Linked DNA regions of Homo sapiens: all the other regions are linked to region 3. Evidence: promoter capture Hi-C in 16 types of primary human blood cells and fetal thymus (Javierre and others, 2016). All regions are on one chromosome and are shown on one strand. The core of a region is centred on a gene start or on the middle of the fragment in contact, and the rest is flanking DNA. Distances in the headings are between cores, read along the strand shown. Region 1 overlaps ARHGAP26 (Rho GTPase activating protein 26). Region 2 has its middle 40 kb from the start of ARHGAP26-IT1. Region 3 holds the start of HMHB1 (histocompatibility minor HB-1). Region 4 overlaps ARHGAP26 (Rho GTPase activating protein 26). Region 5 overlaps ARHGAP26 (Rho GTPase activating protein 26). Region 6 overlaps ARHGAP26 (Rho GTPase activating protein 26). Region 7 has its middle 83 kb from the start of ARHGAP26-IT1.

Region 1 (4,025 bases), core at 424-2,923, 770 kb after region 3:
ATTTTTAAAATTAAAATGCCAAAAATGACATTAAAAATTCATACAACAGAAAAAGACACTTTATAATCTATTTTTACACAAAAAATGAAAATACGGAGGTGTAAGAATGTTTTTAATTTTAAGGAATGTTAGCCAAGACTGAGAAATTAGAAGATCCATTCATTTATAATACAAATATTCTTTATCAAAAAAGACCACCTTTATTTCAACCCAAGGAACTGTACAATTAGACTAGTAAGGGTTTACTTTTAAATTAAACATCTAAACAAAAAATCAAAAACTAATCCACTGCAGTGTTTCTGTTCATTTAAATACATGGATTAGATCACCACTGTACCATTTACAAAAGAAGGCAATTTAGACCAGGTGACTTGAAATGATTTTTCTCCTATTAGTTCCAGGCCCATCATATCTGACCCCTCTCAAGTAATAGAGCTCCAGCTTCCTATTTTATTCCTCTGATGTCCATTCTTCAACCAGTAGCCAAAGTGAACTGTCTAAAGTGCAAATTAGTTCATATCACCTCTTCTCTTAAAACCCTCCAATAGCTTCCCATTGCACTTAGACCATAATCAAAACTACTTACAATGGCCTATAAGGCCTATACTATCGAGCACTGACTACCTCTGATTGCATCATTGACCACATGCATTCTGCTCCACACACTGGCCTTCCTGTCACCTCAACATGCCAAGCTCATGGCCCCACCTCATAGCCTTTGCTCCAGCTGTTTCCTCTACCTGGACTGCTCTTCTCCCAGAGCTTTTCATCATTCAGATCTCAGCTTAAATGCAACCGCTTCAATCTAATGCAATCCACAATCAACATTACTGGTCATTCCCTTACCCTGTTTTCTTTCTTTATAGCAGTTAACAATATCTGAAATTATGTTTGTTATTTGATTATTTACTTGTTTTTTCTGTTACATTCTCAATAGAATGTAAACAGTAATTGTGTCCTGTTCACCATTACATCCTCAGTCCCTGGATCAGTATATGGTACATGATAATAAACAAAACACGAGATTATACTCCATCAAGGCCAGTATAAAATACTTGGGGGCCAAAACACAATCTTCCAAAAGAAACTCAGGAAAGGACCAATTCTGCAGTACTTTCAACAAGACCTATGTAGACATGGAACTAATGAATAAAAAGAAGTGGTCTGGAATGATAGAATTTTACAGCTAAAAAGGACCTGTAAAATCATGTACATCATTCTGCATGATTCACGGACTAGGAGTCCCTGGTCAAAAACTTCAAAAACTAAGTGATGGGTCCCAAGTTACTCAGTGGCAGAAACTTGATTCAGTAACATGTCAGCTTGTGGGCTTGAAAAGTCTTAAGTGTCTCTACTTCTTCTATCCTTGTGCTTTCCCGGGACTTTACACAATCCCACCTCCCACTGGACAATTGTCAAATCCCAGAGAGTATGGGAAGTCTGTTCATCTCTGATCACCATAAATACGTATGCACATACACACACTGCAATCGGGAGATACCCACTTTTTTCAACTATTTACGCTAAAATGGCACCTAACTCATACTGTCCTTATTTCTTCTTTGTGCTCAATGAAGACTTTCGTAGAAGTTAAAATACATCATTTCCATTTTCATTTTAGAGGGGGAAGAGGAACTTGTACACCTCTTCTTCTCCTACTTATTGTATTTATTTTGTAGTTTTACATCAGAAAAAGTTGTCCTCCTGAGCTACCAGTTTGCATTTACTACAGACTCTGTGAACAGTTTTAAATGATTAGGTTTCTCTCTTGATTTTGGCTGCTGAAGACTGAGAGACGAATAGGTGGCCCAGCTCAAGCAAGTATATGAACTTTACTGGGGAAAGAGATTTTTTTTTTTTAGACTCGCTTTTGGCTCCATTTTTGTGCCTCTACCTTTAAACTCTGTACATTTTATTCTCGGTCTTTTCTTTTAAATTTAAAAAAAAAAATTAAAACTCCTGTTGAAAGTTAGACCGTGCACAGTGGCTCATGCCTGTAATCCCAGCACTTTGGGGAGGCCAAGGTGGGCAGATCACTTGAGGTCAGGAGTTGAAGACCAGCCTGGCCAATGTGGTAAAACCATCTCTACTAAAAGTACAAAAATTAGCTGGGCATGGTGGCAGGCGCCTGTAATGCCAGTTACTCAGGAGGCTGAGGTAGGAGAATCGCTTGAACCTGTGAGGCCAAGGTTGCAGTGAGTAGAGATTGAGCCACTGCACTCCAGCCTAAGCAACAGAGCAAGACTCTGTCCCCTCCAAAGAAAAAGAAAAAAGAAAAATTACCTTAGTAATGAACACTTCAAAAAAACTTAGAAACTACAGTTAAGGTAAATAGATGAGTCAAAGGGAAACAGTAAAAATCAGCAGACAGCCACTGAGAACACAATGAAACCTGTGCAATATGACCACTCCTCTCCCCACTGCTCCCAGAACGGGCTCATACTGAGCAGCTGCTTTGTAACTTGCATTTTTCACGTATTATAAATAATTTTTAAAATGCCATATGTCTGTAATCCCAGCACTTTGGGAGACCGAGGTGGGTGGATCACAAGATCAGGAGATCGAGACCATCCTGGCCAACATGGTGAAACCCCATCTCTATTAAAAATACAAAAATTAGCTGGACGTGGTGGTGTGTGCCCGTAATCCCAGCTACTCAGGAGGCTGAGGCAGAAGAATCCCTTGAACCAGGGAGTTGGAGTTTGCAGTGAACCGAGACTGCATTACTGCACTCCAGCCTGGGGACAGAAAGAGACTCTGTCTCAAAAAAAAAAAAAAAAAAAAAAAAAAAAAAGGCCGTATGTCAAAAAATGTATTTCCATTGCATTGTCAGTGATTCACAGTTTTTTACTACACAGATGTACCACTGTTGATTTAACCCATTTTTGAGACATTTGGCCCGTTTCTGATTTTGTACCTTAACATCACCACGGTGTAAACATCCTTATGGCTCAATCTGGCCCATATCCTTATTTCCTCAAGACCAATTCCCAGAAATGTCACCTACTTCTACTTTATATTCTCTGGATATATCTTACATACCTTTACAAGATGCCTTAATTCTTTATTTAAGAGAGGTACAGGGGAAATAACTGAACATTTTAAAAAATGTTTCCATACATTACAACTGTTTTGGAAAAAATATCTTTTGACAGTATACATAAGGGTAGGTTTTTAAATTCTCTCTCTTCCCTCTACTTAATGCCTCACAGTCCTTATGGAAAAAAAAGTGTATATTTCTCAACTGGCAAGTTATGAATCCTGCTTTAAAAGAGAGAATTTCTTTCCACTACTTAAAAAGGGCTGGTAGGCTGAGAGGCTGTGAGTAAATAAGATTCACATCTCTGACAACGGTTCAAATCAAATCCAGTGGAAAGATGGTTAATAGCTTTTCTCAGCGGTACAACAGACCAGCAAACTCAAAGCTTCAAACTGCTGGGACTGAGGAATCTCCTTTGTGGCTGTCTCTGAAGAAGGGATGGAGACCATCAGGATGAACCAGCCTCCTTGATCTTAATGTCCTGCTCCCACAGACCTGGGAAAGATCAGTGTGAACATGGGCCTGACCCCTTTTCTCTACCTGGGTGGTCCCCAGGGACTAGCTCCCCAGAGCATCTTGGGTTCACAGACCCCAAGATGTCTGCCAGAGAAAATTTAGGGTGTCTGTGAACTTAGACAGGAAAACAATTACATCTTTATCTTCACTAACCTATAACTGACATTAAGCATTTCCTTCCTTTATGGATGTAAGCAACAAATTACAGGAGCATTAGCGGTACCTGCAACTTGGTCAGAAATCACAGATATTTTCATAACACATTACAATTATTATGGATATCTTGAAATATCACTGCTCCCAAATTATGTCAGTTATCAGACCCACCACTATCACTTATAAAGTGTTAACAAAGAAACACATATATCATGATACCCTGTGTTTTTTAATATTTTAAAAATCGAATTTCAGTAACTGGTTTCTATAATCATACGTATTTTAGATATTTAACACATTCTTCTGATCAGCC
Region 2 (3,686 bases), core at 1,124-3,623, 580 kb after region 3:
GAGCAGGGTCACAGGTTCACGGTTGGATCACGGGTTGATGCCAGCTCACCCAAACCCATGGAACCCAAGGTGAGGGGAGAGGCAGGGTGGCTCCCCAAAGGAAAACAGAGGTGCTGTTACCAGAAAGATGGGTACTGGATGCCAAGCAGACAAAACAAAAGATATTCCCTTGGGGTGAAAGAAGTGAAGGACGTTTGGGGAGTGGAGCTTCTGAGATCGTTCCCAGAGTGAGAATAGTACGGGAATTAAGAGCGTCAAGAGTATGGGAGTTAAGCGTTAAGCTCTAGTGTCAGCCCACTGGGGTTGATTCTCTGCTCTGTTATTTATTAACTCTGTGACTTTGAACAAGTTGCCCAATCTAATGTTTGGCTTCTTCATCTACAAAATAGGGTAACAACAGCACCTATTTCATGAGCTGATTTGAGAATTAAATGAGACTAATGTAGAGCAATTAGTACAATGCCCATAACATGGAAGTGCTCCATCAATGAGACAGACTTCATCACTGGCCTCTTAACATGCAACAGTTTAGCCCCCTTCAGGGAGTGTAGGAGACTTGAGTGAGAGTCTTGCTCAGTAAGCCCACCTTAGTTGACTCCCACTATTCCTGTGCCCTACAGATACTCACCCATCATCTGCTTTGAGTCTTCGTGCTCTCTCTGCTAGCTCTGACTTCTTTAAATCTCATTAGGCTCAAGAGGGGGTTCAAATGCCATGAAAATGATCTATTTTTAAGCATTAGAAGATCGGGTTAGAAACACACTGGTTCTCCCAGAAGAAGACACACGCTCATGGGATTTCCCTGGCAATCCCATAGAGCCTGAAGGTCTGTTGTCGGCAGCTGGATCGGGGTGGAGAAAGGAGCCATTTTCACATCGTTAAGTTTTTTTTTTTTTTTTTTTTTTTTTTGAGATGGAGTCTGGGTCTGTTGCCCAGGCTGGAGCGCAGTGGCGCAATCTCGGCTCACTGCAAGCTCTGCCTCCTGGGTTCACACCATTCTCCGGCCTCAGCCTCCCAAGTAGCTGGGACTATAGGCACCTGCCACCACGCCCGGCTAATTCTTTGTATTTTTAGTAGAGACGGGGTTTCACCATGTTAGTCAGGATGGTCTCCATCTCCTGACCTCGTGATCCGCCCGCCTCAGCCTCCCAAAGTGCTGGGATTACAGTCGTGAGCCACCGTGTCCGGCCTCACATTGTTAAATTTTTTAAAAATTTCACATTACATATTTCCAGCCAGCAAAGCACGGCTGGGCCCTCTGTGGGGGCTGCCTCCATGCCACATCCCCAAAGATGAAGTGACTGGCCAACACTTGCAGCTGGAGTCCCCGGGGCTGCCCAGGGAATGAGGAGTATCTGCACAGAGCTCAAGAAATGGGGAACTATTCACCCAAGATGAGTAAGCAGAGGGCTCCTAGAAGGAAAGAAAATTTTTAATCCAAACATTTCCTGCTCTTATTCCTGCCACTGGAAAACCAAAGCTGAGTGTGTGCCAGAGATTGTGCTTTCTGAAGGGCTCACTGCTGAGAAGGGCAAAATGAGGTTGTCAACATGGGTTCTGCAAAGGGAGGAGGCTGATGTGGGGGATGGAAGAACCAAATCAAAACCAGAAGGAAAAACTGCCACGAAATTTTAAAGTGATCACGTGTGATGTGATTATGCATTTATGTAAAATTATGTGTGTGTATCTATAAATAAATTTGGAAGTTTTAAAAGGTCATATGGTCCCAGCACATTGGGAGGCTGAGGCAGGCAGATTGCCTGAGGTCAGGAGTTCGAGACCAGCCTGGCCAACATGGTGAAACACTGTCTCTACTGAAAATAAATAAATAAATAAATAAATAAAATACAAAAATTAGCTGGGCATGGTGGCTTGCACCTGTAATGCCAACTACTCAGGAGGCTGAGGCAGGAGAATTGCTGGAATCGAGGAGGTGGAGGCTGCAGTGAGCTGGAATCACACCACTGCACTCTAGCCTGGGCAACAGACTGAGACTCCATCTCCAAAAAAAAAAAAAAAGTCATATGGGCTGTAGAAGCAGAGAGACCTGTGTTTGAACTTTAGGTTCACCGCCACCTGGCTTGTGTGACCTCCCTGATCCTCAGTTTTCTCATCTATAATTATAGATGATTATAGAACTTCATTCAAATGTCTTGGGGATTCAGTGATTAATATAGTACAGCGTTAGGTACCTAGTTAAATGTTAGCTAATATTGTCAGTCATTGAGAGAAAACAGAGCCTAAAGGCTAACAGGCGGGGTGGGTAAGGGTGACTAGAGTTTTCAATTCTCCAGAAAGCCCTGACTCCTCATGTTTCAGTCACATTGAAATCATACCTAACCACCCAGCCACCTCTCTCTCTCTGCTCTTTCTCCCCACTCCCACCTTCCCCATTTCTCTCTCTCCCCCCTTCATTCTTGATCCTTGCTGTCCTTCTGCTTGGGACATGTCTCCATTTGCCTAAGTGGGAAACTCTTCTCTATCTTTCAAGGTCCATCTTGAATGCCACCTCTTCCGTGAAACTTTCTCTGGTTCCTATTTCCCAGTAGGAAGGATGCCTCTTCCTCATCGCACTGCACTACCTGCCACACACTGCTAGTATGGTCATACCACATGGCAAACGCTGTTCCTTGTATATTTCCCTATGGCAGAAGCCAATTTTGAGTTCCCTGAAGACAGAGATCATGTCTTACACTTCCTGGTTGTAGCAGCTCCGGCATGGAAGAGGTGGTCAATAACTGATGGCTGAATGGAAACATAAAAAATCGAGGGTGATTGCTCTCAATGGGCCATGGCCAGTTACTCCCCACTGTAAGGAAAAACAGAACGGAAATGGACTTAAGCTGCCACATGGGAAACTTCAGTCAGACCCAAAGAATTCCCTCAGTGAGAGTGTTAGATATCAGACCAAACTCCTGTGGGACAGTGTGGAATTTCCGTGAAGGGACTTTACAAAGGAATACTTCTTTTATGTTTGGGGGTGATTCTGATGTGGTTTTGCTTGAAGGCAGGCCCTTTTCACATAAGGTTCATGAAACAACCCCTAAGTAACCCAGATGACAGCACAGGGTCTCGGGCTCTTGGTCAGCTGCTTCTCCAGATGGTTTCTTGTGCCCAGCACCAGCCAAGGAGGCTGGGAAAGAATGTGGCTGTGTGTGCCTGAGTGGAGGGTGGGAGGTCTTCCTCCCACAAGCTCCAATCCCAGTATGTGAGCAAATGGTGCGTTTTGCCAAGGGTCACAAAGTTACCCTGTGTTCAAGTACCCAAGTGTAATAACATGCAATTTCTTTCTTCCAACTATAACTGTAGAGTAAAACAGGGAGGAGGAACTGCCTTCTAGTGCAGTGCTTTCCCCACTTTTTTTCCCCTTGGTCAGCCCACCCAGGGGCTATGAGCACCTGCTGCATGCCAGCCCTGGGCTGGGTACTGGGCAGAGATGAACAAGACCTGGTCTCTGTCCTAACTGAGCTGTTTATTAAGAGCAAGATGGGCCTCAAACATTTGATGACAAATCATGAATTAATTATAGGTAGAAAGTACATGAGGGAGAAAAATGGTGTGATAGGAGAAAAGGTGTAACAGAAAGATGGCCATCCTCTACGGCCATAATTTCAACTTGCTCATCACAGGTGAGGCAAGCATGACTACTCCTTTTCTTTGTCACGAAGATTCAGAAAAGGTAGAAA
Region 3 (3,730 bases), core at 471-2,970:
CTTCTGCTTCAATACTGTAATTGGCCATCTCATTTCTATTGCCTATGGAGCAAAAGTCTGAAATAAAAAAGGTATGTTCATATTTATTACTTATATTTTTTTCCTTGCAAAATGACAATCTGGAGATAAAAAAAGTTAATTTTATAATTCACATCCTTACAAAAGAATTTTATTTGTTATTCTTCCAAAGGAAATCCACATGCCATTTACTTTATCTCTCACCAATAAAAAAAAATATGGACTGCTCATGAGACTGACAATGTCTTTCTTCATTTGAGTTTCTGAGTTAAGGAAACAAGGATGGAAACAGTTGACTTATGCTGGCCCCAACAAATGCCCTTTCCATTTTTTACTTTTCAGTTCAGCTAACATTTATTGACAGCTTTTACTGTGCCAAGCACTGTGCTAGATGCCAAGGATACAGAAATGATTAAAACACAGTTCCTTCCCTCAAGAATCCCATGCTCTGATGGAGGAGGCGAACAAGTGCTTTAGGCCAAAATGTAAAACTATGAGGGCACCAAAAAGGGAGTGGTTTATTTTGCCTGGAAAGAAATAAAACCTTCATAGAAGAGGTGACATTTGAAAGGGGCCTTGAAGGAAAAAAGGGAAGGTCGGTAGTTGTCTGTATGAAACAATAAAACAGCATAAAAATTCTAAAAGAAAGTTCTGTTTGTATTCTGTGGGCTACCTGTGCAACTGGATCTGAGCATTCCCTGGGGTGGCTGAGGGGGCTGTGTGGACCAGACAGAGCACAGGCTTCCCCGGCCTCATCAGTCCAGGCTGAGTGACCTCCAGTTGCAGGAAGGAGAAAACAGCAGATCCCTTCAGTGCACGGCACCAACACCTCCTATAACGTCAACCCAGGGCTCCGTGTGTCCTCTTCAAGAGGAGAAAACAAGACAAAAAAACAAACAAACAAACAAAAAACACGACAGCAGGGCCTTTCTGCCATTTCCTGGCTCTGAAATGAGGTTAGTGAGTTAAGGAATGAAGCCATCGTGTCTTTATCTGTAAACTGGGGAAAGCTATACCCCCCTCAAGTGCTTCTGTGAGGATGAAAGAGAGAAATGCATGCAAAGCCCCCGGCACATGATCCTAAGAAGTGGGAGCATGGCGATGATGGTGATGATGGTGGCCATGCTAAGGATAAAGGACGGGTCTGGTCTCTGGGCTGCCTTGGGAAGCCTGAGCATCCCACGCGGTGGGCAAGAACAATGTGATCTTGGCTACCCTGGCTCCGACCCAGAGGGACTTCCTGCCCATCTGCACTTCCCTTGCCGTTGTCCTTGTGGCTCAGGTGGTGCAGGCAGCTGCTCCAACTGCTGCCTCTGGTGCCCTGACAGCTGCAGGCAGCCAGGCAATGGGCTATGAAACCGAACCTCAACTGGAAACTATCCGCCCTAAATAATCCCAGCAACAAGGGCCGTCTCACTCCTCTCCCCTGCCTTCCGCCATCCCTGTTTTCACCTGTTGTGGTTTCCCTCTCATTCCACCAGCATTTTCTTTCATTTTCTCTGCCCCTTCGCTGCCTCTTTCCCTCTCTCTCTGTTCTCCCTCCTCCTCGCTCCCTCACCTCTTTTTTCTTCTCTGCATTCTGGCTGCTCCTCCAGTTCTGGTTTCTCCACTGTGGTGTGGCAGAGGATGTGAGGTCAGAAGGCTCAGGGCCTGCCCGGCTTCTGAGATGCGGGGCAAGCCGCCTCGGCCTCCTGGGATGTGGTTTCCTCATCTGCAGAATTGGACCAGAATGACTCTGGAGTGTTCCTTCCGTTCTAAACTCCCGTTCTGTTACATTGTGTTGTGTTAGCCTTTGTGCCTGCTTTTCCTGCTTCAGCTGTCTCATCTGTCCACCTGCCTCTTCCATCTGCATCCCACCACTCGGGTCCAAGCTGCCAGCATCCCTTGCAAGGACCCCTAGAGCAGCCTCCTGCTATTGGAGGTCTCTCTGCTCCTGTTCTTATCCACATCCAATGTGTTATCCACACAGAATCCACAGTGACCTTATCAAAATAGAGATGAGATTGCTCACTCAGCTTAAATCCTCCAAACTCCTTTACACCCCTTTTCTATCATAGGTCCCTGTTTATGTTCTTCAGAGTAATTATTATTGCCTGAAATTATCTTTATTTACTCATGAATTTCTTAATGTTGATGTATCATTTGCTGTCTGTCTTCCACACTAGAATGCAGGCTCCAGGAGTGATGGACTTGATTGTCTCGTTTACTCCATATCCTCACTGGAGGGGCCAGCGCCTTTATTCTCTCCATAAACACTGAATGAAGGAACCTCCCTTTGCCGCAGAATCCATCTCTCCCCTTCTTGAGAGTATTCTCTCCTAACCACACCATTTCTTACTTAGAAATACCTGTGCCTGCCAGAAATCCTGCCCATCCTTCTCTGTCATTTCTGATATAATTCCCCTCATTCACTTTTCTCAGTCAGCCGGGTCCTGTGTTCCCATGGGCTATGGTAAAGAACAATGGCAATGATGAAGCTAGTTCTTCTTTCACTTTAATGTCAATCTGTGCCGTTGGATGCCTTAAGATAAAATAACTTAACAACTCTGAGACTTGAATCTAGTTAATTGTCTTACAATGCTGAGAAAGAGACTTCTTTAAGAAAATATATTAAAACTTCCAAAATTCTGTGCTTGGTTCTTGGGGAGATGTTAGGAGTAGCCATTTTCTTTAAAACACCTCTTTAAAGTAGGTAATGTTAATATGTCCATTTTACAGGTAACAAAACTGGGATTTAGAGAGTGCACAACTGGACAAGGCCATAGAGCCAGAGGTGCATGGAGCCAGGATTTGAATGGAAGAAGTGCAACGCCAGACCCAGGCACCTAGCCACCACATGGGTGACCCTAGTCACCCTCTCACTCCCTAGATTAGATTACTCTGCATTATTTTCACCATAACACTTATAAATACCTGATGCGATCATATTTCTTGTGTCTATTTGCTTCCATTATAACATAAACTCCATCCAGGCAGTTACCATATCTGACCTGTTCACTGCACTTATTCCAATACTTACAATAGTGCCTCATACATAATGGACGTTCAATAAATATTTGCTAAATGAATTAGTTATTTGCATATTGAGGATGAGATATGAAAGAAGGCCTGATAATTCTGTATATAAAACTCCATCTTAGCCAGGCACTGTGGCTCACACCTGTAATTCCCAGCACTTTGGGAGGCCAAGGCAGCAGGATCGCTTGAGCCCAGGAGTTTGAAACCAGCCTGGTCAACATAGACCTCATCCCCACACAAAAAAAAATAATAAATAAAAAATAAAAAATTAGCCAGGCACGGTGGTGCATACATGTAGCCTCAGTTACTCAGGAGGCTGAGGCCAGAGGATCAATTGAGCCCAGGAGTTTGAGGCTGCAGTAAGCCATGATCACTCCAATAATGCACCCCAACCTGGATGACAGAGAAAGACTGGGTCTGTAAAAAACAAAAACCATCTTCTTTGATGATGGAATTTTCTCAAAAGTATCTTCAGTGTTGGCATATCTTTTTCCTTTGAGAATGCATTGGCTTTTTGCAATTAGCCAAAACTGTTAAAGACTGCTTTTTTGTCAAAAAGAACATATGGTCATAAAGCATCATCACTGCTTTTCTTGCCCTGAAATTAGATCTATTTGTGGAGGTGTGGAGGTCTAACTTTCTGTGCTTTGGGAAGCTTATGCACTCTGGTAAGGCCCCTGGACTCTGTCTCAGA
Region 4 (3,738 bases), core at 807-3,306, 790 kb after region 3:
CTGTGACTGCTTTCACACTACCATAGCGGAGTTGAATACTCCTATAAAAATAAAAATATTTACTATCTGGCCCTTTACTAAAAAAAGTGGACCCCTGTGCTAAGCAATAACATTTGTAAAATCAGGGGATTGGCCAGGCGCAGTGGCTCATGCCTGTAATCCCAACACTTTGGGAGGCCGAGGCAGGCGGATCACCTGAGGTCAGGAGTCCGAGACCAGCCTGGCCAACATGGTGAAACCCCATCTCTACTAAAAATAAAAAAAATTAGCCAGGTGTGGTAGCAGGCACCTGTAATCCCAGCTACTAGGGAGGTTGAGGCAGGAGAATCACCTGAGCCCAGGAGGCGGAGGTTGCAGTGAGCCGTGATCACACCACTGCACTCCAGCCTGGGTGACAGGGGTCTCAAAAAAATAAATGAAATAAAACAAAATAAAATCAGGGGATTTCAGAGAACTTATGTTCCCCCACAATACACATCAAAATAAATACAGAAGTCTAGATGGTAATTTAAAATATACTCTCTCAAATGACCTAGTGTACCACCAGTGGTGTGCACACCCCACTTTGAGAAATACAGTAACGAGGATTAAATGAATGAACACTCATAAAGCACCAAGACTGAGAAACAGTAGCAGGTTGTCTTCCTCCCTTCAAGAGCAGTGTTACCAATCCAGCTGGCTTTTCCTTTCCAGTGGGTTTTTCCTTTTGTTGTGGGAGTAACTGGCCTGGCCAGATGATAAGAGTAATAACCAAGAGTAATTAGGCACTTACCAACTAATGTGCAGATACTAATGTGCTGAACTTTCATTCTTACAATGAGTTTATGAAGCAGGGGTATTATTATCCCCATTTTACAGAAGAGGAAATGGAAGCTTAGAGAGGCGCACCACCTGTCCAAAGTTCTACACCCAGGATGCTATTCTACACCAGCCACACATTACTCCTCCATGCAAACCCTCTCTCTAATCCACGTGGCGGAATCTACCCAAAGAGAATGATCTGAGATACGTACAAAGGCTGATGTACAAGGCCAATAACTGATGAAATTAATAACTTTTGAAGCTATTATGAATAACATAGGCCAATGTTATTTGTAATACCAAAAACCTGGAAAGAGCATTAGTCTAACAATGATAAATGATTCAACAAATTAAGATATAGTCCAATGACAGAATATTAAACAACCATGACAGGTGATACTTCTAAACATTTCATGACATCAGAAAATGTCTGTAATTTTTAAAGCAGAATACAACAAGCATATTCAACATAATGCCAGTTAAATTAAAATTCATACTGACATTGACAAAATACATACAAGACATCATTTAAAAAAGGCAAGAAGGAAGTATCTCTGGGAATAATATTACCAATGATTTTTGACTGAATGTTTCAAAATCATTTTGCTGTATTTCTGTAATATTCTACAATGAGTTCATATTTCCTTCTTCAATCACTGCTCTTCTCCCCACCTCCCAGTGTGAATGACAAATTGGCAAACTGCAGTGGGTTCTTCAGCATTTTTATTCAAATATAAAGGATTCTTATAAAAGCACTAGATTAGGCCAGGTGCAGTGGCTCACGCCTGTAATCCCAGCACTTTGGGAGGCCGAGATGGGCGGATCATGAGGTCAGCAGATCGAGACCATCCTGGCTAACACGGTGAAACCCTGTCTCTACTAAAAACTACAAAAAAATTAGCCGGGCGTGAGGGCGGGTGCCTGTAGTCCCAGCTACTTGGGAGGCTGAGGCAGGAGAATGGCGTGAACCCGGGAGGGGGAGCTTGCAGTGAGCGGAGATCATGCCACTGCACTCCAGCCTGGGCAACAGAGCAAGACTCCATCTCAAAAAAAAAAAAAAAAAAAAAAAAGCACTAGAGCACTAGATTAAAAACAAACCACAAGGAAAGAAAGGACTAGGACTTGGATGCAAAGAGGAGGAAGTGTTATATTTTTTCTTCTTCTGGGGAGGAGAGAAGGGAGGAAATTTCCATTTTTCAAGTGTAGCTCACTCTCAAATCCATGAGCTCTGGGCATGTAGTCTGCACCCTGGGTACTTCTGTAGATGGTTTGAATATGACATACACCCACACGATGTAATTGGGCCATCTGTCTATTGTTCCCCTGTGGTCTGAACCTCCACAGCAGATCACATGAGCTTTAAAGGTAGAGACAGATGTGTGTTCTAGTTATGAGTGTCCTTACCTCTCGGTACTCATATATCTCAGTGCCACCTGCCCTTAAGAACTCCCAGAAGGCTGGGCGTGGTGGCTCATGCCTATAATCCCAGCACTTTGGGAGGCCAAGATGGAAGGATCACGTGAGGCCAGGAGTCCAAGAACTTCTAGAGGCATTCACTGAAGGAAGAGCTACAGGAAGCCTGGACTCCTGCAGTTTCATCCGGCACAAGATCCAGGTGGGAGTAACAGGAAAATGTTGAACAAGAGTGAGAAGTGGAGTGAACTACAAAATGGCATTCTGAAAAGCCAGATGGCCAGTGTTAAGCCAGGTCCTGACATGCATGAGAAGGCATGCCTGCAGCAACTTCAGCATATTCCTTTCAACATAACCCGATTAACCTATGGAATCTGAGTTAATACCCACATTGAGGAAAGTGGCACTATAAAGTCAAGATTAGGAGACTGAGCCCTCTCTGCCTCAATCTGTCAGACTTCAGCCTTCAAGCAGCTGGAGAAACAGTGGGAGGGCAGCATTCTTGTAAACAAGCTAATCTTTTTAGAGTTAAGTAGGCAGTGACATTTGTTATTTAAAACATCAAACTTGGAAAAGACCAACTCACACTGTAAGAGCCTGCCCTTCTCTTACTCCCTTGCACTGGACTGGTGTGTTCTCTCTGACAAGTTCTCGGCTTTCTAACCTTCCCTCAGGTGGGACGGCAGGACAATAGCAGCCTGAGCTGAGAACAGGCCTCTCATCCTGCTTCCAACCTGGACTCATTACAAAGAAAAATGAACCAATTCTCATAGTCTTTGGGGAGTAAATTTTATAACTCCCTAAAGATATTCCCTACCTTGTACCCAAAGGTAGGGAACAGCAAAAAGACAAAAAGACATCGAGAGATACAGCAAACGGGGCTGCAGCGGGTGAGATGGGAGAAATGGTTCTTGCCCAGGGAAGTCTTGTTCTTTGTAATAATGAAAGGGACGAATCAATGACAAGTATCAGATAACTAGGTGACTGACACTGGCAGTGACCACTTCCTCAAAAAAAAAAGCTTAAGAAGAAACAATATCATACTTTCTTCTTCTTTATTACCAATACTCCCTTTTTCCCCTTCCCTTCTCTACTAGGTAAGAGTTTGACAAATTAGAGAATCTGGTGTCACTGATATAGATTCCTGACATTCTAGAAGCAAATCCAGGAAGGGTCCCCATGGGTAGCAGGGCTGGCAAAATAAAATATTGGTTTTTAAATTTAGTATTTAGGGATTAACTTGACCAGGAGCACACACGATCTCTAGGCAGAAAAATAAAATCCTAATAAAAAACACTGGTGGTCTGAATAAATGGAAAGACATTCAAAACCCTTGGAAGACATGACTTAATATTACAAAGGTGTCAACTTTCTCCAAATAACCTGTATGATTCAATGCACTCGCAAAGAAAAATTTTATTTTAGGGGAAACTTCTTAAACTTATTATAGAATTTATACAGAAGGATAAAGACTCATAAATACCCAAGTCAAACCTCAAAAGGGAGAATAAATAGAGGAGACTT
Region 5 (3,775 bases), core at 891-3,390, 660 kb after region 3:
TTGTTAATAAACCCTCCTTGAGTTATGTTATTTTGAATGCACCAAAGTTTCTTCTTAGGATCCTAATACATCAACCTTGAATGAACACCTTTGCCTTTGTTTGTTTGTTTGTTTGTGGACAATAACATCTTGGTTTTCCCTGAAGACAAGGCTTCTCCTGTATAGGGCAACAAGAGGTAATAGGGTAGTCTGTAATGCAGCTATTTTATCCCTTTTCTGAGTATTTTTGACAACAGCCAGGGAATAGCCCCATCACCAGCTGCCTTTACTTCATAAAGAATATTAGAAGGAACATTAAAGCAATGTCTTAGTGAGAACTCCACTGCTTCCTTGTGAAGGAAGGTGATAGATATTAGAAGAGAATTTGATAGTGCAAATGCAGTGAATGACTAAGATGCTACATTTCCAGATAATTTTTTTTTCAGAAGCTCTTTTCCCTTTTGCCATAATGACAGTCAAATCAACACAGAGTCCTAGGCTGGAGAGGAATTCCTGAGGCTAAATTCTTCCCCAGTGGAGAGTTGAGATTGCAATTAGTTTCTAGCCTAATCAGCGTAGTTTCCAGTTGGCTCCACCCAACGGAGGAACAATAGGGTAGGGGGCTTTGACCAACGCTCTTTGTGTAAACAGTTCGATGCCTGTCTTGGAAGAGGAGCACTTCTATTGATTTCAGTGTATTTTATTATTTATAGTTAATTTAATTTGGGGTATTTTAATTCCTTTTTAAAATTATATCAATGTTTTTAATCTGGGTTGCTTTATGTTACATCAGGATCAAACAAATAAACAAAAGTAAACATTGAGTGTCCATCCACTGCCACCACGGAAAGAAATCAACACTAGGGGTTTGTTCATTGGTAGGGGGAGCAGTCTGAGAGCAAATAAGAAGAAGGAATAAAAATAATAGTAGAAACCAATTTTTATTGATTGGTTTTATTGATTGATACTCTGAACGAGGCCATTTACTAAGTGTTAGGAAGGCATTATCTTATAACCTTGAAAGTAGGTATTATTATTATTGCTACCATTTCACTGAAGAGGTTTAGCTTAGAGATAGCAAATAACTTTCCCAAGTTTACACAGTTAGGAAATGGCAGAGCTGAGGCTTGACCCTGGTAGATCCACAATCAGGCCACACAGGCTTTGCCCTGCCCCAGATTCTAAAGCTTACCAATGCTTTTCACGTGATATAACCCTATAACCCATTTCAGTCTTCGGAAAGCTATTTGTGGCCATACACTTATATATAAACAAAATCTCTGTTCTCTGAAAGGATCTCTACCATAGTAATGCCATCCATTATGAGAAATACATTTTCCCCCCTCAAAAGTAGAATGTCGATTTAGAATAGCATTTCCCAAACCATGGAATGCTCTTTCAAGAGGCTTAAGAGAAGTGCTGTAGAAATCATGTACTATGGTCAACGTATTTAGGAAATGTAGCGTAAGAGATGCCCCTTCAAGATGGACATATTAAAGGCTCAGAAGTTCTCTAGTCAATAATTTGTTGAACTGGCCAGGCATGGTGGCTCACGCCTGTAGTCCCAGCATTTTGGGAGGCTGAGGCAGGTGGATCACTTGAGGTCAGGAGTTCAAGACCAGCCTGGCCAACATGGTGAAACGCTGTCTCTGCCAAAACATATAAAAATTAGCTGGATGTGGAGGTGTGCACCTGTAGTCCCAGCTACTTGGGAGGCTGAGGTGGGAGAATTGCTTGAACCCAGGATGTGGAGGTTGCAGTGGGCTAAGATTACACCACTGACCTCCAGCCTGGATGACAGAGTGAGACTCTGTCTCGAGAAAAAAAAAAAAAAAAAAAGAAAGAATGTGTTGAACTTAGTCCAAAGCAGCTCTTGCCCCCTTCCCTTCCTGTACCAGTTTGGGAAATGCTGATTTAGACATCTCTAATCTGTCCACGCCGATGCTCATCCATCACCTTCAGTATCACATAGCCTGAGAGCTATTTTTCTGTCAATACCAGCATCTTGATCTTTTCATGTTACACACACAATAGATAAACAATAAAAACATCTACTGGCTTGATTAATTGATGCACCCACCCTGTCTTGATTTGTAACCAACAGGCACGCATTTGCGAAGCAGCTGACTGGGCTTTTGGGGGGAGATGGAAAGTGCAGCCCTGGTGAGCTAATAGGTTCCTGTGAAAAGCAAACCCATCCCTCCTCAGCTATATAAGCTGTGACTGATCCCAAAGGCCACGGGCAGAGCTCAGTTAAGCCCCAGTACTGTCATCACTGCACAGACAATCATAGGGTGCTGGTGATGACACAGGCTTGGCCCTGAGAGCTTTACACTGAGGTAAGTCCTGATTTTATTCTGGTGGAAGTCCATGAGCTTAACGCACTAGATCACTATGCACTATGGCTCTCAGACTTGAGCATGTATCAGAATCATCTGCAGGGTTTGGTAAAACACAGATTGCAGGGCCCTCCTTCCAGAATATGCTGATCCTATAGGTCTAGGGTGAGGCCTGAGATTCTGTAGATCTAACAGGCTCCCAGGTAACACCAATGATGCTGGTCCCAGGACCACACTCTGAGAACCAGTGCACAGAGCTAAGGGTCTGCCTTGGAAGACCAGTGTAACAGAGACCAAATGAAGCCTATGGTTGATCCTGCCTGGCTTTCCAGATCCCTAATGCAGAGAAGGAGTTAAAAACAAGATTCTAAGGCTGTTTCCAACTAGGAATGCTTTCCTAGCTAAGTAAGCATCTGCTTTCCAGATTGACTAAAAAAGGTTTCAAAAGCAGTACTTGAACTCTAATGTACTTTTAATTTACCCAATTTAGAATCTGAATCTACGAATAAGATCCCTCAGATTAAATACACAGAGGTAGAAACAATTCTAATCTAATCCTAAATAAGAAAAATAACACTTTAGATTTCCTTCAAAGTTCCCTCACAGGCATAACAATGTTGAAAAAGCCATGCGAAATCTTAAGCCTATTTCCTTCCCAAATATTCTACCAAAAATTTGAGATTTAAAATGCCTAACACTTACACAAATAAAATACAGTGTCATAAGGCATTTGAGGGCAGCTAAATTCAAAATGAAATTCAGTCATTCATACCTTTAATTAAACTCCAAAGCTTTAAGCATGTACTGTGTATGTCAGGGCAATTTTTGGAAACTGTTTTAGGTTATTTAGCAAGATTTATAAGTTTATAGAAAAAATACAGACCCTTTATATGATTTTAGCTTGTACAGGAGAAAAGAACAGAACAATATGTGTAAAGGAAAACATTTTTCCATTTGTGATTTCCACTCTGCTGGAAAACAGGGATGTGGCTAGGCATTCAAACGGCGCTCTGCCCTTACCTCCTCCCATACCCCCTCTGCTGACAGGCTGTAGAGATCCAAGTGCCACCGATGGGTCCCTGGTGCTTGGGAAAGAAACCCTGCTGGGTCACCAAGTGTGAGGTCTGTCTCAAGCAATTTTTATATTTTAAAAAAGAAGAACCACCACTAATAACCAACACATTTATCTCATAAAAATTGGATGAAGGCAGGAATTTCCACCCTCAACCAAGGGAAGCCCAGCTGGGCTCCCGATTGATGAGTGAGATCTTGCTTAGGGAAAGAGAAAAGTGGACATGAAGCCACTCAGAAAATGGGTCACACCAGTAACAAACTGAAAATGTCAAGGAAACGTGGCCTAGTTACAGGGCAGAGCTGTGGCCTCCACAGCCCAGGAGCCTGAGGTGACAGAGGGAGGGTATCTGGCATGTCCAAGAAACAACAATGAACGAGTAAGT
Region 6 (3,608 bases), core at 538-3,037, 730 kb after region 3:
CTTCTAAATGCTGTAGAGCCCCAGGACTCTGTCCTGGCTCCTCTCCTCCTCTATCCACAGACCTGCCCTCAGTGATCTCATCAGTCCTGTGGTTGATATACAAGAAAGAATAATCTGTATGCTGAGAGCTCTCAGTAGAACTTTTGGTGTCTTTACCCCAACACCCACCCACTCCACCACAACAATAAAACAAGACAAGACCTCCGTTTCTCCCCCAGTGAAGGCCAAAAACCCAGGAGTCATCCTTTATCCCCCTTCCCTACACATATCACATCTAGCTCATTGGTTAATCCTGTTGGCCTTATCTTTAAAAATATATCCCAAATGTGCCCACTGTTCAGCATTTCCACCACTACTACCCTAGTCCAGGCCCCAGTGTCTTTCATCTGCACTACTGCTTCAGCCTCCCCAACACCACACTAGCTCCTGTTCAGCTCATTTGCCATAGAGCAACTGGGTGTCCTTGGGAAAAGAAACACCCTCACCACAGATTGTGCCATTCACACCCTCAGAACCCTCCAGTGGCTCCCCATTACAATTAGAACAGAATTCAAACTTCTTCCTGAGGTCCCCAAGCTACCACTTCATCTGGCCCCTGCTTAGCTCTGCAAACTCAGCTTGTACCACACAGATCTTACTGTTCCGTGACCACGCCCAGGGTGTTTCCACACCAAGCAGGTGCCTTTCCCAGGGTTTTTGCACTTGCTGTTCCCTCTTCCTGGAGGAACCTTCCTCTACCTCTTCACAGGGCTTTGCTCTCTCACTTCATTCAGGTCATGGCTTAAATGCTACCTCCTCAGAGAGCCTTCCCTGACCACTTGGCCTAACACAGCTCCTTGTCCATCCTCAATACTTGGGCTTACTCTTACCTGAGGGCACTTACCACCACCTGAAATTATCTTTATAATGGATTTAGTCTATACTTCTATTTTTTAAAAAAATTTACCACTGTATTCACAGGTCGTAAATCCGGAGTAGGTACTCAATGAATATGTGCAAATATCTGCATCTTGCCTCAATTTAACTTTAAGCTCTAAGACAGCAGGGACTCTGTCTTGGGCACTGCTATATCCCCATGCCTAGAATAGCACTTGGTATATAATAGGCATCCCCATATTTGAAGAATGAATAAGTGAAAGGCTCCTAGCAGTCCTACATATAAAGGTCAGCTCCCATCTTATAGGCAAAAGAGTGACCAGGACTCACCTACTAGAATGGCCATCTGAACTTGTGTTTGAATAGTGTAAGGTCCCCCACTATCCAGAGGTAGGTCATACTCCTGAGGCTCCCCAGTATATCCTCCCCATCCAGATGCTCTGGAGCTATGTGACAGCTGGCTTGGTCTTTTAAAGAGGGAGAAGACCATGTGAGGCAACATGAGCCTAGGCTTTGGGCACCAGGAGAATCCTGCATCTCATCTATCTCTAGATTCTCCCTAGGCCCTGCAAAGCTTCTGTCAAACAAGCTCACTTTCCCTAGGCACGCTGCACCACTGGATCAATTTCCACCAATGTTACCATGCTAAGGCTATAGGGAAACGAGTCCACAGGTAAAATAGGTCCAATGTACACATAACAATATCCCAAGGAGTCATTGAGATGAAGCAAGTGCTTGCTCCAAGACCTGAACAAGGTAAATATATTTAAAAACATGTTCGTTTAATCCGGTCTGACAGTGAGAAGGGTTTGTATGGGGCCGACAATACCAGGCTGGTTGTCCCGTGTCTGGCACACCCTGCAGGTTTTTTCAGTTAAATGTAATAATCAAATCAGCTGCACAGCACCGTTAACTCTGAAAAGGCAAAGGGAGCTTCCTGGGTGATCTCCCTGCCTGCCTTTCTCCCGTGCCGACTACAAAGACCAAAGAATCGTAGCCTGGTAGCAAAGGTGTTTATAGACACATAGAGGACGCTGGAAACAGAGAAGGAGAAAAATGGGGAGGTTTCTGCTCTAGCAGTCTCCAAAGGAGAAAGCGCTTACTTCACAGTAGATGTCTGAGAAAAATAATGTTTCATAGGCTTCCTCCACCTAACTTGTTTGGTTGCCCAACTCTATAGATCCTTTGTGCCCTCCCATCCCTCTACCATTTCCAAACTGACTTTGCACTCAGACATGACAAAGCTTGTAAGCACTCCCAAGAGAGCACAAGTTAAAGGAGGGAGAGACAGGCCTTCTGCAGACTAGTTATGTGAAAACAAAGGAAAAGTTAAACACATGATAAGATAAAGTAATAATCCTAGCACTTTTCCCACAGCCAATATTATCCTTTACTGATCCAGCTGGAAATTACTCTGCATTTGCAGAGCACAATCAAGATATCAGGTGCATGTCTGGAAGTTTGGTTTCTTGAAATAAAAATGCCATGTATGTTTAGTGATGCTACCATAACCACCGGTTTCACCAGTCAGCCATCAAGAAAGTATTTAAGAACCCAAAGAGCTCAGATGCTAAGAAAGTCTCTAAAGTTGATTTTTCCACCTCTTAGGCCAATCAAACCCACCTGTCTTATTTCACCACAGTTGGACACAGGCCAGCTTTCAATGAATATGTCTGAATATCTGCCTCTTGCCTCAATTATAATTTAAGTTCTAGGACAGGTTTAAATTATTGATGTTAATAGGAGAGAAGCAATTGTCAATTGTCTCTGCTTACCAGCAAGACACATTCCTGAAAAGTTTTCTCTGAAACAAAATACTATTATCTGAAAACCTCCCCCACCCCGCCCAACTGCTATAAAATTCCAGATGTAGTCTGAGATGGCAAACTAAAAGCAGACTGAATCAATCTCTTCTCTAGCACGGTCCATCAGTGTCCACAGCCGAGGGAATAAAACGGACACACTCAGGTCTGGATACTGACCAAAATAAAAAACCAAAATCCGAATTGAAATCCAGCAGGGGCAGGACTAGAGTTAGACAGGAGACACACCCAGGCCACATTTAAAGAGGCCCTCACTCACTCTCGGGATGGTTGCAGGTTATTGCCTCCTTCAATTTTGCACCCAGGTGTCTCTTCTGCCTCGCCCTAGGCCCAGCCCTGCTAACACATCATTTTGGTGTCCTGACTTACTTTCCCTGCAATGAAACTTCATTTTTTATTGAGTTAGCGTAACATGATTGGCTGGGTAATGCAGGAACCTAAACTTTGTTAAGGTTTTTCTTTCTTGGTTGACTAGCCTGCTAGCTTCCTCCCTCCCTTCTTCCTGTCCACTCACAGAAGGTGAGAAAATACAATAGTTTGTTCATTTCAATGGTGGTAGAATATAGGAGAGGGCATGCAGAGATGAACTGGCCTTTAGAGGCTGGCAGCAAAGGTGAGAGGCAATCAGGGGCTTAAGGAGATTCCTGGAAACCAGGGTTGGGGGAGGGGAGATATGCTCAGTCTGCATCCCAGAAAAGAAGAGCCTAGGCACCAACAGCTACAGCCCCACCCTACTCTTGGCCTTCGAACCCTCTAGGTGGTCCGAATAGCTATGCAGACCCAAGGTCAGAAAGACAGACTTCTCTTTGATTGCACAGTTTACTTTTAGAAATTGCTCACAACAGTCAGACATTTCAGACCCATCCTCAAGAGAGACTTTCCACAAAGACGCTGGCAGCGCCCTGTCAT
Region 7 (3,822 bases), core at 1,139-3,638, 540 kb after region 3:
ACACATTATGGCTGTACCATTCACTTTAAGTAGTAACCTTACATTTCTGTAGAACACCTTCACATACATTTTTAACAAGCCTCACTGAATGAATTAATGACATGAAAATAATGAGGCAGATTATTCTCGTTTCCATTTTATAAGGAAGTAAACTCTGTAAGAAAGTAAACAGGCTCAGAATTTAAGCACTGATTCATAGCCCCTAGCTCCCATGTTATTGAAATTTGAATGGAAAGCCTCTAATGAGGCCATTCATCTATCAGATGTCAAAGAGCATGTCTCTGGCCTATGAGCCTCTCAGGGAACTGGTTATGTTTTTCTGTTTTAAATTAAACTAATGCTTTACTGAGCACTTACTATGTGCCACGCACAATGATAATTCAATATATTATTTCATTTAATCATAGTACCCCTCTAAAGTACTACTGTAAAGCAGTGCTATTATCCTCATTGCATTTATATCAGGAAACTGTGGCTTAAAGAATTGAGTAACTTGCCTACAGTCACAAAGCTAGCTCCAGAATCCATAGTTTTAAAAACCACTATTGAGAAATTACTAATATGAGCTAACTAGGGCGAATGAACCCATATTGATCATTATGTGTCTGGCCTTTTGACATGTCCTCATTTAATCTAATCCCTTTTGCTACCGTATCAATTTTGACTTAGAAATTTAACAATGATACATTAGTCCCCGCTTATCTACGGAGGATATGTTCCAAGACTCCCAATGGATGCCTGAAACATAGATAGTACTGAACTGCATGTTTTTTCCTATATTACATACCTATGATAAAGTTAATTTACAAATTAGATGCAGCAAGAGATTAACAATAACTCAATTACAACAATATACTGTAATAAAAGTTATGTGAATGTGAGCTCTCAAAAAATCGTACTATACTGAGGGTAACTGAGACCACGGAAAGTGAAACCGCAGATAAGGCGGGCACTATTGTATTTCCTTCTCTTAAAAACGTGTCCTGTACCCTGGGGTGGTTGATGGTGGAAAATACTAGTTGCCCACAGATTACAGAATGCCCTTTGGTTTGTCTAATATACAACAGGGAGCCTGTCTCACTAATGCCCACAGAAAAATCAAACATTTCTTCAAGTGATATGGAGCATATAGGGTACAGTCAAACCAAGGAAGAAAGTTGTTTATAAATGAGAACTATAGTGCAAGTTAAAATTTGCTCCTAGTTTTGCAGGTAAAGAGCCAGACTTTGGGTGTAGAAAAAAAGTTGAAAATACTGAGGCTTTTACATAAGGTGATTTTTTTTTTTTTTTTTTTTTTTTAGAATTTCAACTAATCTCTTTTAACTTAAGTCGTTCTTAACAGTATTGGTAACTTCATAGCACTTTCTTTCTGGTGAAATAACCCCATCCTCCCTCTTATTTAGGCTTCCTGTTTCCTAGTTAAAATGGGGCAGTACTTTGTTAGGGAAGTATTTTTACTTCACTTGGTTACAAACATGTAAGTCTCAGAACAAAAGAGTTTGTGCAGACCATATCAGACACTCAAAAGACTTTCTTCACTCTACCCACTTGAGTAAGAGACAATTTATATTCTGTTCACCTTATGTACCCTCACCAAAAATATTCAATAGGGTAATAATGTGTATATAATGTAAATAAGGCACACGTTTTTCTATTTTTGTTAAAGTTGCATTGTCTTAAAAGTACTGAGTATATACATGGGGTTTTGCTAGAAATAAAAATCTAGGTCATCCAAAACCTCTACAGTTGTTCACTAGGATTGCAAAGAATCAAGATAAAAATGAAACTCTTTCAATATGGCAAGAAAGGGGGACAGTGTGCATAAAAGCAAGCAAAGGCTCACAAAACAGGAGAATATGTCACAAACACCACCTGATCAATTTCAAGACCTACTATGTGGCAAGCATGCTAGATGAAGCAATTCAAAGACCACTAAGGCAATACTAAGACTCCAAGGAGAGGTTCCTGCCCTCAAGGAATTAAAGATGAAAGGCAAATGACTAAGCAATTCTACTCCTATGTATCTACTCAGAAGAGATGAAAACGTGTCCACACAAATGACTTGCATGCAAATATTCTTAGCAGCATTATTCTTAATAGTCAAAAAGTGGAAACAATTCAAATATCCATCAACCAATGTACAGATAAACAAAATGTGGCACACAAAATGTGGCTGGGCACGGTGGTTCATATCTGTAATTCCAGCACTTTGGAAGGCCAAGGCAGGTGGATCACTTGAGGTCAGGAGTTCGATACCAGTCTGGCCAACATGGTGAAACCCTGTCTCTATGAAAAATACAAAAAAATTGGCCGGGCACGGTGGCTCACGCCTGTAATCCCAGCACTTTGGGAGGACAAGGCGGGTGGATCACCTGAGGTCGGGAGTTTGAGACCAGCCTGAACAACATGGAGAAACCCTGTCTCTACTAAAAATACAAAATTAGCCGGGTGGCGCATGCCTGTAATCCCAGCTACTTGGGAGGCTGAAGCAGGAGAATTGCTTGAACCCGGGAGGCAGAGGTTGTGGTGAGCCGAGATAGCGTCATTGCACACCAGCCTGGACAAAAAGAGCGAAACTTCATCTCAAAAATATATATATATATTAGCTGAGTGTGGTAGCGCTCGCCTGTAGTCCCAGCTACTCGGGAGGCTGAGGTGGAAGAATTGCTTGAACCAGGGAGGTGGCAGTTGCAGTGAGCCAAGATCGTGTCATAGCACTCCAGCCTGTGGCAGCAGAGTGAGACTTCGTCTCAAAAAAAAAAAAAAAAAGTGACGAACCTCAAAATCATGCTAAGTAAAAGAATCCAGACACAAAAGGACCATATATTATTTCACTTACATGAAACGTTCAAAAAAGGCAAATCTATATAGAGAAAGAAAGCACATCAGTGGTTTCCTATGGCTAGGGATAATATTAGGGTTTAAGTGCAAATGGGCACATGAGGGTACTTTTGGGGGTGATGGAAATGTTCTAAAACTAGACTGTAGTAATGGTTGTGCAATTCTGTACATTTAATAAATGCTACACTTAAAATGGGTGGATTTTATATGGTATATAAATTAAATCTCAATAAATACGTATTAAAAATAGAGGCAGCCAAGCAAATGTGTAATTGCCATTCAGTTGTATCAAAAGCAGGTACAAATGCACTAAATGCACTTTGAATGCACTAAAACAAGTGCAGCTATTTTTTTTGGAAAGCCTGTCAGAAGATGTCTTCATTGTGCTACATGTTAAAGGATGAGCTGGAGTTCAGCAGCACAAAGCCTTACTCGTTTAATATTAATGGATGCCCCTGTAATGTTTAATTAGTCATATGTTCTACCCATCCCCAGAGAGGGCAACCATGTACAAAGAGATCACCAACATGACAAGTAAAAAAACTCACAGCATATACATGACTACTCATGTCTTGTATGAATTCTAAGTGTTAATAACTGTTAAGACCTTAGTGGTCTTACAACTTCGGAATAAACAAATCTGGGTTCAAGCCTTGCTTCTTTATTTACTAAGTCTGTGATTTTGAGAAAATTCCATAATCACTTTATATCTGTTTCTACATCTGAAAAATATATGTAGCTGCTTAGCTCAACTCCTACCATATAGCAAGCATTCAATACACGTTAGCTGTTTTTTAAGTCCTCATGAAAATCTAAGAGAAGGGGAATTTTTTAATGCTGTCCCCAAAAATGTATAGAAGTGAGGCAAATGATGAAGAGCAGTATGAACACAGTAACTGCACACAAATTTCCAACCCTGCATTTCTTAATTAATCAAAGCTATGCATAAGGCTGAGGGAGGCTGTTCTGTTATTTGCCAAT

Evidence for each region. The method cuts DNA at HindIII sites, captures the fragments that hold promoters and counts their contacts. A CHiCAGO score of 5 or more calls a contact.
Region 1: a contact is called between a fragment that was not itself captured here and the fragment with the promoter of HMHB1 in region 3, in 6 of 17 cell types (erythroblasts, total B cells, naive B cells and 3 more). The highest score is 7.4, in erythroblasts.
Region 2: a fragment that was not itself captured here is called in contact with the fragment with the promoter of HMHB1 in region 3 in 2 of 17 cell types (naive B cells and M2 macrophages); the score reaches 5.5 in naive B cells.
Region 4: a contact is called between a fragment that was not itself captured here and the fragment with the promoter of HMHB1 in region 3, in 7 of 17 cell types (erythroblasts, total B cells, non-activated CD4 T cells and 4 more). The highest score is 9.3, in erythroblasts.
Region 5: a fragment that was not itself captured here is called in contact with the fragment with the promoter of HMHB1 in region 3 in 1 of 17 cell types (naive CD8 T cells); the score reaches 6.8 in naive CD8 T cells.
Region 6: a fragment that was not itself captured here is called in contact with the fragment with the promoter of HMHB1 in region 3 in 1 of 17 cell types (naive CD4 T cells); the score reaches 5.4 in naive CD4 T cells.
Region 7: a contact is called between a fragment that was not itself captured here and the fragment with the promoter of HMHB1 in region 3, in 1 of 17 cell types (M1 macrophages). The highest score is 5.4, in M1 macrophages.

Annotation. Positions count from the first base shown.
Region 1 is chr5:143,037,454-143,041,478 of GRCh38, reverse strand. All of the region lies in intron 13 of ARHGAP26 (Rho GTPase activating protein 26), which reads right to left. Among named protein-coding and RNA genes, the nearest start is that of ARHGAP26-IT1, 150 kb to the left of the region's middle. RefSeq lists an enhancer at 3,806-4,025. The HindIII fragment of the contact is 3,509 bases long and covers 1-3,427 here.
Region 2 is chr5:143,230,964-143,234,649 of GRCh38, reverse strand. No RefSeq gene overlaps it. Among named protein-coding and RNA genes, the nearest start is that of ARHGAP26-IT1, 40 kb to the right of the region's middle. The HindIII fragment of the contact is 6,240 bases long and covers 1-3,686 here.
Region 3 is chr5:143,810,151-143,813,880 of GRCh38, reverse strand. HMHB1 (histocompatibility minor HB-1) reads right to left here and starts at 1,720. Exons shown (of 2, transcript NM_021182.3): 1 at 1,577-1,720. The coding sequence starts at 1,613. The HindIII fragment of the contact is 5,854 bases long and covers 1-3,693 here.
Region 4 is chr5:143,018,766-143,022,503 of GRCh38, reverse strand. The region is part of intron 12 of ARHGAP26 (Rho GTPase activating protein 26); the gene reads right to left. Among named protein-coding and RNA genes, the nearest start is that of ARHGAP26-AS1, 150 kb to the right of the region's middle. RefSeq lists enhancers at 509-598, 2,279-2,488, 2,909-2,958. The HindIII fragment of the contact is 2,362 bases long and covers 876-3,237 here.
Region 5 is chr5:143,155,216-143,158,990 of GRCh38, reverse strand. All of the region lies in intron 20 of ARHGAP26 (Rho GTPase activating protein 26), which reads right to left. Among named protein-coding and RNA genes, the nearest start is that of ARHGAP26-IT1, 35 kb to the left of the region's middle. The HindIII fragment of the contact is 1,943 bases long and covers 1,169-3,111 here.
Region 6 is chr5:143,077,664-143,081,271 of GRCh38, reverse strand. All of the region lies in intron 17 of ARHGAP26 (Rho GTPase activating protein 26), which reads right to left. Among named protein-coding and RNA genes, the nearest start is that of ARHGAP26-IT1, 110 kb to the left of the region's middle. The HindIII fragment of the contact is 670 bases long and covers 1,453-2,122 here.
Region 7 is chr5:143,273,303-143,277,124 of GRCh38, reverse strand. No RefSeq gene overlaps it. Among named protein-coding and RNA genes, the nearest start is that of ARHGAP26-IT1, 83 kb to the right of the region's middle. The HindIII fragment of the contact is 6,040 bases long and covers 1-3,822 here.